2 separate regions of the Homo sapiens genome follow, and region 2 is linked to region 1. Evidence: promoter capture Hi-C in 16 types of primary human blood cells and fetal thymus (Javierre and others, 2016). All regions are on one chromosome and are shown on one strand. Each heading gives the region's core, a stretch centred on a gene start or on the middle of the fragment in contact. The rest is flanking DNA. Distances are from core to core; before and after follow the strand shown. Region 1 holds the start of NFX1 (nuclear transcription factor, X-box binding 1). Region 2 has its middle 82 kb from the start of RNF38.

Region 1 (4,922 bases), core at 531-3,030:
CATTTCACCATCCACATCCTTGTTTGCGTTTCTGGCCCTCGTCCTCCCTGCCTCTCCTCTGCCTCCCCAACCCCCGCCTACCTACTGCTCCCAGGGGTCTCTCCAGGGGCAGGGGGATTTCAGGAGATGGGGTGGGGGCCAGCCCCTACTGGACCCTTGTAATCTGATTTGAAGACCATCCCCCTGATGGGACCAGCAGCCCCGCTGGCCCACTGGGGGTCCCTCTTAACATCTGCTTGTTGTGGGGGTCAGTGCCACGGTCTGCTGGGGTCTTGGCACTGTCTTCCTGGCCGGGGCCTGGCACCTTAGCCCCCAGCCGGCCCGAGTGGGGGATATCGACACCCCCAGCTAAAGCACAAGCACCTTAGTCATCCCTCCTCTCCCCCTGCCTCCTGGCCTGCCACCCCACCCCAGCGTTTACCCCAAAGCACAATGCCCTGGTCACTTGGCAAGTGGCTGGGCCTGACGGAGGCCAAGGGGCAGACCGGGGCTCCAGCCAGACCCCCGAAAGGAAGCAGGTGCTCCCCCACTTCCAGGACTTAGTTGGGGCGGGGGGCCCAGCTCCTGGGCCTAGGGTCTTCTCACCCCCACCCCCTTGTCCTGGGTAGGCCCCTGCCTGCCCCTCTCTGCCTTTTCCTCGGGTGTCCCTCCTCGAGCCCCTGCGGCACTGGCTTGGGTGGCAGAGCCCACTTGTTTCAGGGACCCCAGGAGGTGGTGCCCCCTGGCTCCTGGGACTGTGTGTGGGTCTGGGGGGTGGGGGGGTGGGGAGAAGCGTCGGGCAGGGGGTGCAGGGGAGGAAACTCCTCACCAGGAAAGCCAAAGACAGGGTTGTGCCTTACCTCAGGAGCCACCCGTTCCCCCTTGCCCTGCCGTTCACCCTCCACCTTTCCCCCCGGGCGGCCTGCTGCTTTTTCCTTCTCTTCCTCCCCTGCCCTGCCCTGAGCTGCATGGTTCCCCTACCCTGGGAAGCCAGGAAGGAATCTGAATGGAGAATCACCAACCACCAAAGAAAAAAAGACTGCGGGGCCCTCCCCTGCCAACTCCCCTTCCCTGGCCGCCCACTCACCCACACCTCTTTCACGCAGGACAGGCTGCCCACCCTGTCCACGTGAAGTGCCAACGCCCTCCCCACCCTGGGCCGAGCCCCCACCCCTCCCTGGGCCCCCAAGTGAGATTGCACATTTAACTACTGTAAGGAGAGGAGCGGCGTTGGCAAATGTGAACCATGAGAATATCGGTGATACTGATGAGAATAAACGCCTTTGTAAAAAAAAAAAAAAAAAAAAAAGTCTGGAGCCAGGCGTGGTGGCTCGCCTGTAAGCCAAGCACTTTAGGAGGCCAAAGCGGCAGGATCGCTTGAGGCCAGGAGTTGGAGAGACTAGCCTGGGCAACATGGCGAAACCCGTCTCTACTAAAAATAGCTGCGCATGGTGGCTCCGCCTGTAGTTCCAGCTACCGGAAGGCTGAGGCGGGAGGATTAGAGACTGAAGCTATAGTGAGCCATGATCAGACCACTGCACTCAAGCCTGGGTAAGGCAGCAAGACCCTATATCAAAAAATAAAAAAAGGAAAACCACAATGATTACGCAAGTCGCCGCCCTCCCTCCTGCGATTGTTGCTATTTCCATCCAGCTACTAGTCTCCTCCTCCCGCCCGACACCTGGCGCGTCTATCTGACGTCACGAACGCGCCACACAGATTCGGGCTGCGCAACCTCTGTGGCCGTCTACACGGCGCGCAGATGCGAATATTCTCGCGGCGCCGGAAGTCCGGGGCACGTGACCTGGTGACAGTGCTGACTTGGCTGTACAGCTCGATCTAGGTTCTGCGGCACGGGATGGCGGAGGCGCCTCCTGTCTCAGGTATTGTCCCGGCCCGAGCGGGACTGGGCCCCTTTCAGGGAGCGGAAATTGGGTCAGTGACGAAGTTCTAGGGCCTCAGCCACTCATATCGCGAGAGTAGCACATGCTAGGGCGTAGGATAGTGGCTCGGAAGGGCCAAGCCCCGCGCATCGTGCGTACGAAGATCTGTGTCTTCTTGGACTAGATGGTGAAGCCCAGTAGCTGGGTTTCGGAGGAGAGAGGACTTGTCCCGGCGCTGCGAGTCGATGTGGGTGCCCTGCCTTCCCACAGGCTGTTTCTGGGGCAGCGGCGCACTGACCTTCGACAGGCGGGCGTCGGCCAGGTCACAGCCAGTGACGGTGGCGGGCTCTTGACGTGTAGGGTGTGGTGTGCTCATACCGCCTGGAGTGGTGGCGTGGGCGCGAGCCGAATTCCAGTAGTTTAGAGTCTCAGCCTGCTGCGAACCCCGTGTGACTCAGTCTCAGTCTCCTCATCTGTCAGTTGGGAGTAGATAAGTTAATTCCTGTGATGGCTCCCGCCCTGTACTGTACCTATTCTGTAATTGTTCACTCACTCCCCCTCCTGGAGTTGCCTCAGTGTGTAGAGACAGCCTCATTTGTTCGTTGATATAACATCCATTTCCTCAGGGTGTTCCATAGATCAGTGTTTTCCAAATGTGTTGGACAGCAACCAAAAGAAACATTTTGCATCGCGACCTTAAATATTGTACACTTACATAAATATAAAAGCGAACCAGAAGTTTCTGGAAGCAGTGAGGTTGGTTGGTTTGTTTTACAATCAGCAATATATTCTGTTTTCTGTTTCGTTTAAAAATATGTCACAGCCCACTGCCTTCATTTGATTTTATGGCCCACTCTGGAAAACAGGGCAGCAGTTTGCAGAATGGAGTTTGGAAACCATTGGTTTGAATCTCAGCTCTGTCCCTGACCAGCCGTTGGGGCACCAAGAAGACCATATATGTATTTGTATACTGGGTGGCAGGTAAAATGTATTTATTACTATGGTTCTTAGTTTAAAAAGTTAGGGCCGGGCGTGGTGGCTCACGCCTGTAATCCTAGCACTTTGGGAGGCCGAGGTGGACGGATCACGAGGTCAGGAGATCGAGACCATCCTGGCTAACACGGTGAAACCCCGTCTCTACTAAAAATACAAAAAATTAGCTGGGCATGGTGGCACGCGCCTGTAGTCCCAGCTACTCCGGAGGCTGAGGCAAGAGAATTGCTTGAACCCTGGAGGCGGAAGTTGCAGTGAGCCAAGATCGTGCCACTGCACTCCAGCCTGGGCGACAGAGTGTGACTTCGTCTCAAAAAAAAAAGTTGGAAAACACACTGCATTGGTGTACCCTAGTCTTGATGTGGATATTAAGTCTTCCTTGGGGTTGGAAAACTTTTTGGGCTGGGTATTTTGTTATTCTCCTCACCTAGTCCTTCACCAGATTCTCTAAACTGGATCTATTGATCGTCTCATCCACAGGCTCGTTTCTGACTCATTTCTGTACCCTTCAGTGTTTGAAGAAGAATTCGGTGGGGCCTAGTTGTGAGTCTTCGTGTTGAACTTTGGTGTTGTGCCCAAGTTATTACCTCCAACCCAGAAAGTATCTAATGAGGCAAAATCTTCTAGTCCAAAGACCTCCTTACTCCTTTTCATGTGCTTTAGTTTGATTTTGCTTTAGTTCCCATTCCATGTTCGTATTTTAGCATCATCTTTAGCCCACACCCTCATCATCAAAGTCTTTAAACAGAAGCCCAGTGCAGAGGATACTTTTCTGCCGGTGAGCAGACTCTGCAATGCCAGCCTTGTCTCTGGACTTTGTAATCTGCCAGTTGGATTTCCCTTTAGTCTGCCTTTCCCACCTGTTGGACACCTACTGTGCTGCTGTGTTATCTTGGATTTAGGGTACCACTTGTATTCTAGCCGTGGTGACTAGACATCCTGTTTACTAACTTCCAGCTACTTGAAATAGTGAAATAAAAATGGTGCCTCTGATCTTTGCCATGGCCAGTTTCCTGATCAATGTGTCCTGTTTCCCTTCCTCATGTCTCTTATGGGTTTTTTTCCTGAGGGCTTTGCCTGCTGCCTCATGTCTAGTTGAACATATCCTGTATATGAGTACATGCAGCCTTCTCTGGATTCTCTAGTTGCATCAACTCATTACTGCTTAACGAGAAACACTCTTTTCCTATCCTTTACTAGGCTTCTCTAGACATCTTTACTGATCTTATTTCTGCCCCTCTTTCCAGTCTCGCTTTTTCAAGCAAGCGAGAACTACACAATACCCACTGGTCCAATTTAACCATTCCAACCTTTAAATTATCTTATGTTTCCAGAATACCTCTGCCACCCTCTGCATTTGTCTAATCCTTTTGTGATTTTGTGAGGCCCTCCATCCCATCCCCTAGAATTCTGCCTATGTGAAAGCTTTCAGGACAAATCCTGAATTGGGTGAGAGGTTACTCTATGACCTTTATGATCATTCCATTTTTCACTGTATGTTTCTATGGTACCCACTGCCCAAGCTCTGTTAGTGTAAGAGCGCAGTCTCTAATACACAAACTGAGTTGGAACCCCGAGTCTTCCTTGGAATTCCTCTGTGGCCTTGGGCAAGTTCCTACTCTCTGTGCTTCAGTTTTCTCATCAGGAATGTAAGGATTAAATGAGTTAATACATGTAAAGTGCTTAGGATAGTGCCTGGCACATAATACCTAATAAATGTTAGGCCTTATTATTAAACCTGAAACCCTCAGGCTCTATACTGCACCCATCAATGCTCAAGCCTGTGTGTTTCAGATCCTCTGTAGTCCTAACAGCAATGATAGAGTACCATTTTAACCATTTTGTGTGTGTTATTAACTTGCTTTACTCTTCACTGCAACTCTTTGATATAGAGGTTGTTACTATCTTCATTACATGTAAGGAAAATGGGGCTAAGTAACTTTCCTGAAGTTAAAATAAGTGATAAGTGACTTAAACCCATGTCTTCCAGGTCTTACCAATTTATAGTATATTCTGTATGCTACACATAGTTCTGACTTTGCTACTAATTTTATGTCCTTAGGCAAA
Region 2 (4,361 bases), core at 737-3,236, 3.2 Mb after region 1:
GACAATAAAACAAATTTCAACAGAAGGTCAGCATGCAGCATCTGCAGCCACTAAAATCCAAGGTGCAGAAGCAGAATGGACAGCCAACTTTTCAACTCCAAGAACATCCCAAAAGCACTACAAATTGTCCTACTACCTAACTGCTTGCTATTCTATGTATACAGTTTTTTTCTTTTTCTTTTTTTTTTTTTTTTTTTTTGAGACAGGGTCTCACTCTGTTCCCCAGGCTGGAGGGCAGTGGCACCATCTCAACTCACTGCAATCTCCGCCTCCCAGGCTCAAGCGATTCTCGTGCCTCAGCCTCTCAAGCAGCTGAAATTACAGGCAAGTGCCACCACACCCAGCTAATTTTTGTATTTTTAGTAAAGACAGGGTTTCACCATGTTGCCCAGGCTGGTCTCAAACTCGAGCTCAAGTTATCCACCCGCCTTGGCCTCCCAAAGTGCTGGGATTACAGGGGTGAGCCGCCACGCCCGGCCCCTTCCATGTATATATTTGGTCCTCTTACTACTACTTCCCTACATTTCTCAACAAAGTCAAAGGATCAGTATATACACCAAAACTCACAATATCTCACTCTCTTATTTCTATACATATTTTACCACAAAAGCAGAAAATGCAGTGATAGCTTTTTTTCTTCTCTTTCTTTTTTTTTTTTTTTTGAGACAGAGTCTTGCTCTGTCACCCAGGCTGGAGTGCAATGGTGCAATCTCGGCTCATTGCAACCTCCGCCTCCTGGGTTCAAGCGATTCTCCTGCTTCAGCCTCTCAAGTAGCTGAGATTACACGTGCGTGCCACCACGCCCAGCTAATTTTTGTATTTTTAGTAGAGGCAGGGTTTCACCATGTTGGTCAGGCTGGTCTCAAACTCCTGAGCTCAGGTGATCCACCCGCCTCGACCTCCCAAAGTGCTGGGATTACAGGCATGAGCCACCACACCAGCTAGTGATAGCTTTTGATAGCGTAACTATTGATAAACCCCAATATACTCCCATCATTCTACTCTTCCACCTGTCCAACATCACTGCAGTTAACTGTTCTCAGCAGTCCCAAGAACAGCGCTAATATCCATTTAAGTAGAACAGGAAAAAAACTGAAACCAGTCTGGGTAAGGCCTGCAGGTAAGAATTGTTTATTTCCCTTCTGTGGGCAAAAGACCACTTTTGTTAAACATCTTTAGTTTTTTAACATATAATTTCTTTCAAAAAATTACTCCAAGACAGCAGCATAAGCAAATTGAAACTTCCTATCCCACCACCCTCAATCATGTTTAAAAATAATAATAAAAAAGACAACAGAAACCACTTCAAATGTATCTTTCCCTTGAGCCCCCAGAACAGCATTCATCCACGACAACTGTCCTGAAAAACTCTGCCATTATTTCCAAAAGCAGTAGGAAGTCCGGTCTTGTCCTTGGTTTGTACTCCCCCCTCCTCTCTCTCCAAGAAAAAATGAAACAGCAGGAAGCGTAAACAACCACTTAATGGAAAATACAAATGGGTAAATATTTTCAAAATTAGCTAAAAAGCCTCAGGTCTTCAGGAATGCTAGTGCAGGGGGAAATAGGAAGAGAAAAATAACTGCATTTACCCCTTCAAGTGAGCACTGTAAGAAGACAAGCGCAAATGTGGCACATAGGTACTATACTTTCTCTCCTCCATTTACCAGATACTTTTGTCTTTTTTTTTTTTTTTTTTTTTTGAGACGAAGTTTCGCTCTTGTTGCCCAGGCTGGAGTGCAATGGTGCAATCTCAGCTTACAGCAACCTCTGCCTCCTGGGTTCAAGCGATTCTCCTGCCTCAGCCTCCCAAGTAGCTGGGATTATAGGCATGTGCCACCACGCCTGGCTAATTTTGTATTTTTAGTAGAAACAGGCTTTCTCCACGTTGGCCAGGCTGGTCTCGAACTCCTGACCTCAGGTGATCCGCCCACCTCGGCCTCCCAAAGTGCTGGGATTACAGGTGTGAGCCACTGTGCCCAGACCTTTTTTTTTTTTTTTTTGAGACAGAGTCTCACTCTGTTGCCCAGGCTGGAGTGCAGTGGCGTGATCTCAGCTCACTGCAACCTCCACCTCCCGGGTTCAAGCGATTCTCCTGCCTCAGCCTCCAAAGTAGCTGGGATTACAGGCATGCGCCACCATGCCCAGCTAATTTTTCTATTGTTAGTAGAGACGGGGTTTCACCATGTTGGCCAGGCTGGTCTTGAACTCCTGACCTCAGGTGATCCACCCACCTCGGCCTCCCAAAGTGCTGGGATTATAAGCGTGAGCCACTGCGCCAGGCTGACAGTGGTATTTTCTAAATAGCTTATTCTGTACATATTTCTCCAGCCTCATAACAAAGTTTACTATTTTAAGCTGTGCTCTTTGGTTCAGCTGAGCATGGTGATGAAAAGCCCCTTCCCATGAAAAGTTCACATGGAGAACTCTTGAAGCCCCTAGGGCAAGCACTAACCCAGACCTCATGGTAAAGCCCACAATGCATATGGATGAAACTGTTAGTTACAGCTGGACTGACAGTTCCAAAGCTGCAGAGCAGTGCTAGATCACAGATCACCTTTGCGTGGATTAGAAAAGGTGCCCCTTCTCTGAGTGCACACAGTTCCACACCAGGTACTCATCTTGGTAAGTGGAGTACAGAATAGATTTCCACCCTCACTTGCCACCTGAAACAGGTATCCTTTTGCTGGGTGCAATCTCTATGGTCCTACACAGCAGCACCGTTAAGAAGTGTACCGGCCAGGCACGGCTGTTCACGCGTGTAATCCCAACACTTTGGAAGGCCGAGGCAGGCTGATCACAGAGGTCAGGAGTTTGAGACCAGCCTGGCCAACATGGTGAAACCCCGTCTCTACTAAAAATATGAAAATTATCCGGGCATGGTGGCAGGCACCTGTAATCCCAGCTACTCGAGAGGCTGAGGCAGGAGAATCGCTTGAACCTGGGAGGTGGAGGCTGCAGTGAGCCGAGATTGCGCCACTGCACTCCAGCCTGGGCAACAAGAGCGAAACTCTGTCTCAAAAAAAAAGAAAAGCGTACCTGGGCAATGCTGCACCTCCAAAGTGGGTTTCCAGATAGAGGAACCTTAACAAAGACAAACAGGCACTTCACAAATTTCACTATCAGAAAGCCTCAGATTTGTTAACATAAATTCATTCATAAACACATCAGGACTAAGGAAGAAAGGTCTAGTAGAGAAGGAAAACTAGCAAATTTTGGAGAAAGGACACTCTTCCATCTTGAGGGATAATCAGTTGTCTCCTAAAGACCTTAATCTCTGACCATAGGTTCAGACGGCTGAACCTCAAATGTTGGTCACAAGCTAAAACAATCACTAGCATCTGCAGAGGGATGGATCATCTTTCTCTTAAGACATAATGACATGTTTACCTTTGGGGGTTTTACTTTCTCCAAATTTTCCTTCTCTGCTAGACCCTTTTTGCCCTTACTTTGAAACCACATACAGTTGACACATGTGTTAAAATCTGTAAAACCTGATAAACAACCCTGGTAGGTAGTGGGCCCCTTAGCTAACTCCATGAAAATCAGAGGAATGGACAACCTAGATTAAGAGGGGTATGGCATCCAACCCTATCATTCTTTTATGCTCCACAAAAGAGGTAAAGTATCACGTGGGTCAAAATTCCATCCCAGTCATCCAGGAGTGGGAACAGAGGGGCAGCCTAAGGAAAAGATGAGGACTAGGCTGGGGCAAACCCAAGATAGTGGTTCTCAAACTTTAGTGGGCATCCCAATCTACTGGGGAGTTTTCTCAGAATCAGATGTCTGGGTCCCTCCCTACACCTGATATATCAGAATGTCCTGGAGCACATCTATTTCAACAAAGCTCAAACTGCTGACACAGGTCCAATAGAAAGTTTAGAAATAATGAGAAATCTACCGCAACTATCAGCAGTTCCAAAATAAAAGTCATCCACTGCAAAACTAGGTTTAGCAGGTCAGAAAGGGGCGAAAAAGGATCACCAGCCTGCATGTCTAACAGGCTGCGCTAGGCTGGAGCCTGTAGGAGAGGTCCATTATTATGAAACAAAAACTGTGTTCTATAAACAAAATTTTTGTGTGAGAAATATTTCAAACATCTGAAAAATATTTAGAGTATACTAAATATCTCTATACCCTACACCCAACATTACCAAATCTTAATTTACGATTACCTGATTCAGATTTTTTTTAAGTAATAGGACATTAAAGGTATAAATAAAGCCCTTTTGGGTACCCTTGTGTAATCCCATTCCTCATCTTCTCTTCCCAAAGACAATCATTACACTTAATATGCATAATTTAATACTATCACCACATATGGGCATAGCCACAAACAATATTATTTTTCATGTTTTCAGATT

The links. Contacts are between HindIII fragments. The CHiCAGO score rates a contact against its expected background, and 5 or more counts as called.
Region 2: a contact is called between a fragment that was not itself captured here and the fragment with the promoter of NFX1 in region 1, in 1 of 17 cell types (monocytes). The highest score is 5.0, in monocytes.

What each region holds. Positions count from the first base shown.
Region 1 is chr9:33,288,736-33,293,657 of GRCh38, forward strand. NFX1 (nuclear transcription factor, X-box binding 1) reads left to right here and starts at 1,781. Exons shown (of 24, transcript NM_002504.6): 1 at 1,781-1,862. The coding sequence starts at 1,838. It also overlaps the pseudogene LOC100862682. RefSeq lists enhancers at 1-671, 1,377-1,796, 1,807-1,856, 1,826-3,025, 2,007-2,056. The HindIII fragment of the contact is 6,050 bases long and covers 1-4,278 here.
Region 2 is chr9:36,480,371-36,484,731 of GRCh38, forward strand. It overlaps a transcript of RNF38 not described here. Among named protein-coding and RNA genes, the nearest start is that of RNF38, 82 kb to the left of the region's middle. RefSeq lists a silencer at 2,198-2,377. The HindIII fragment of the contact is 6,165 bases long and covers 1-4,361 here.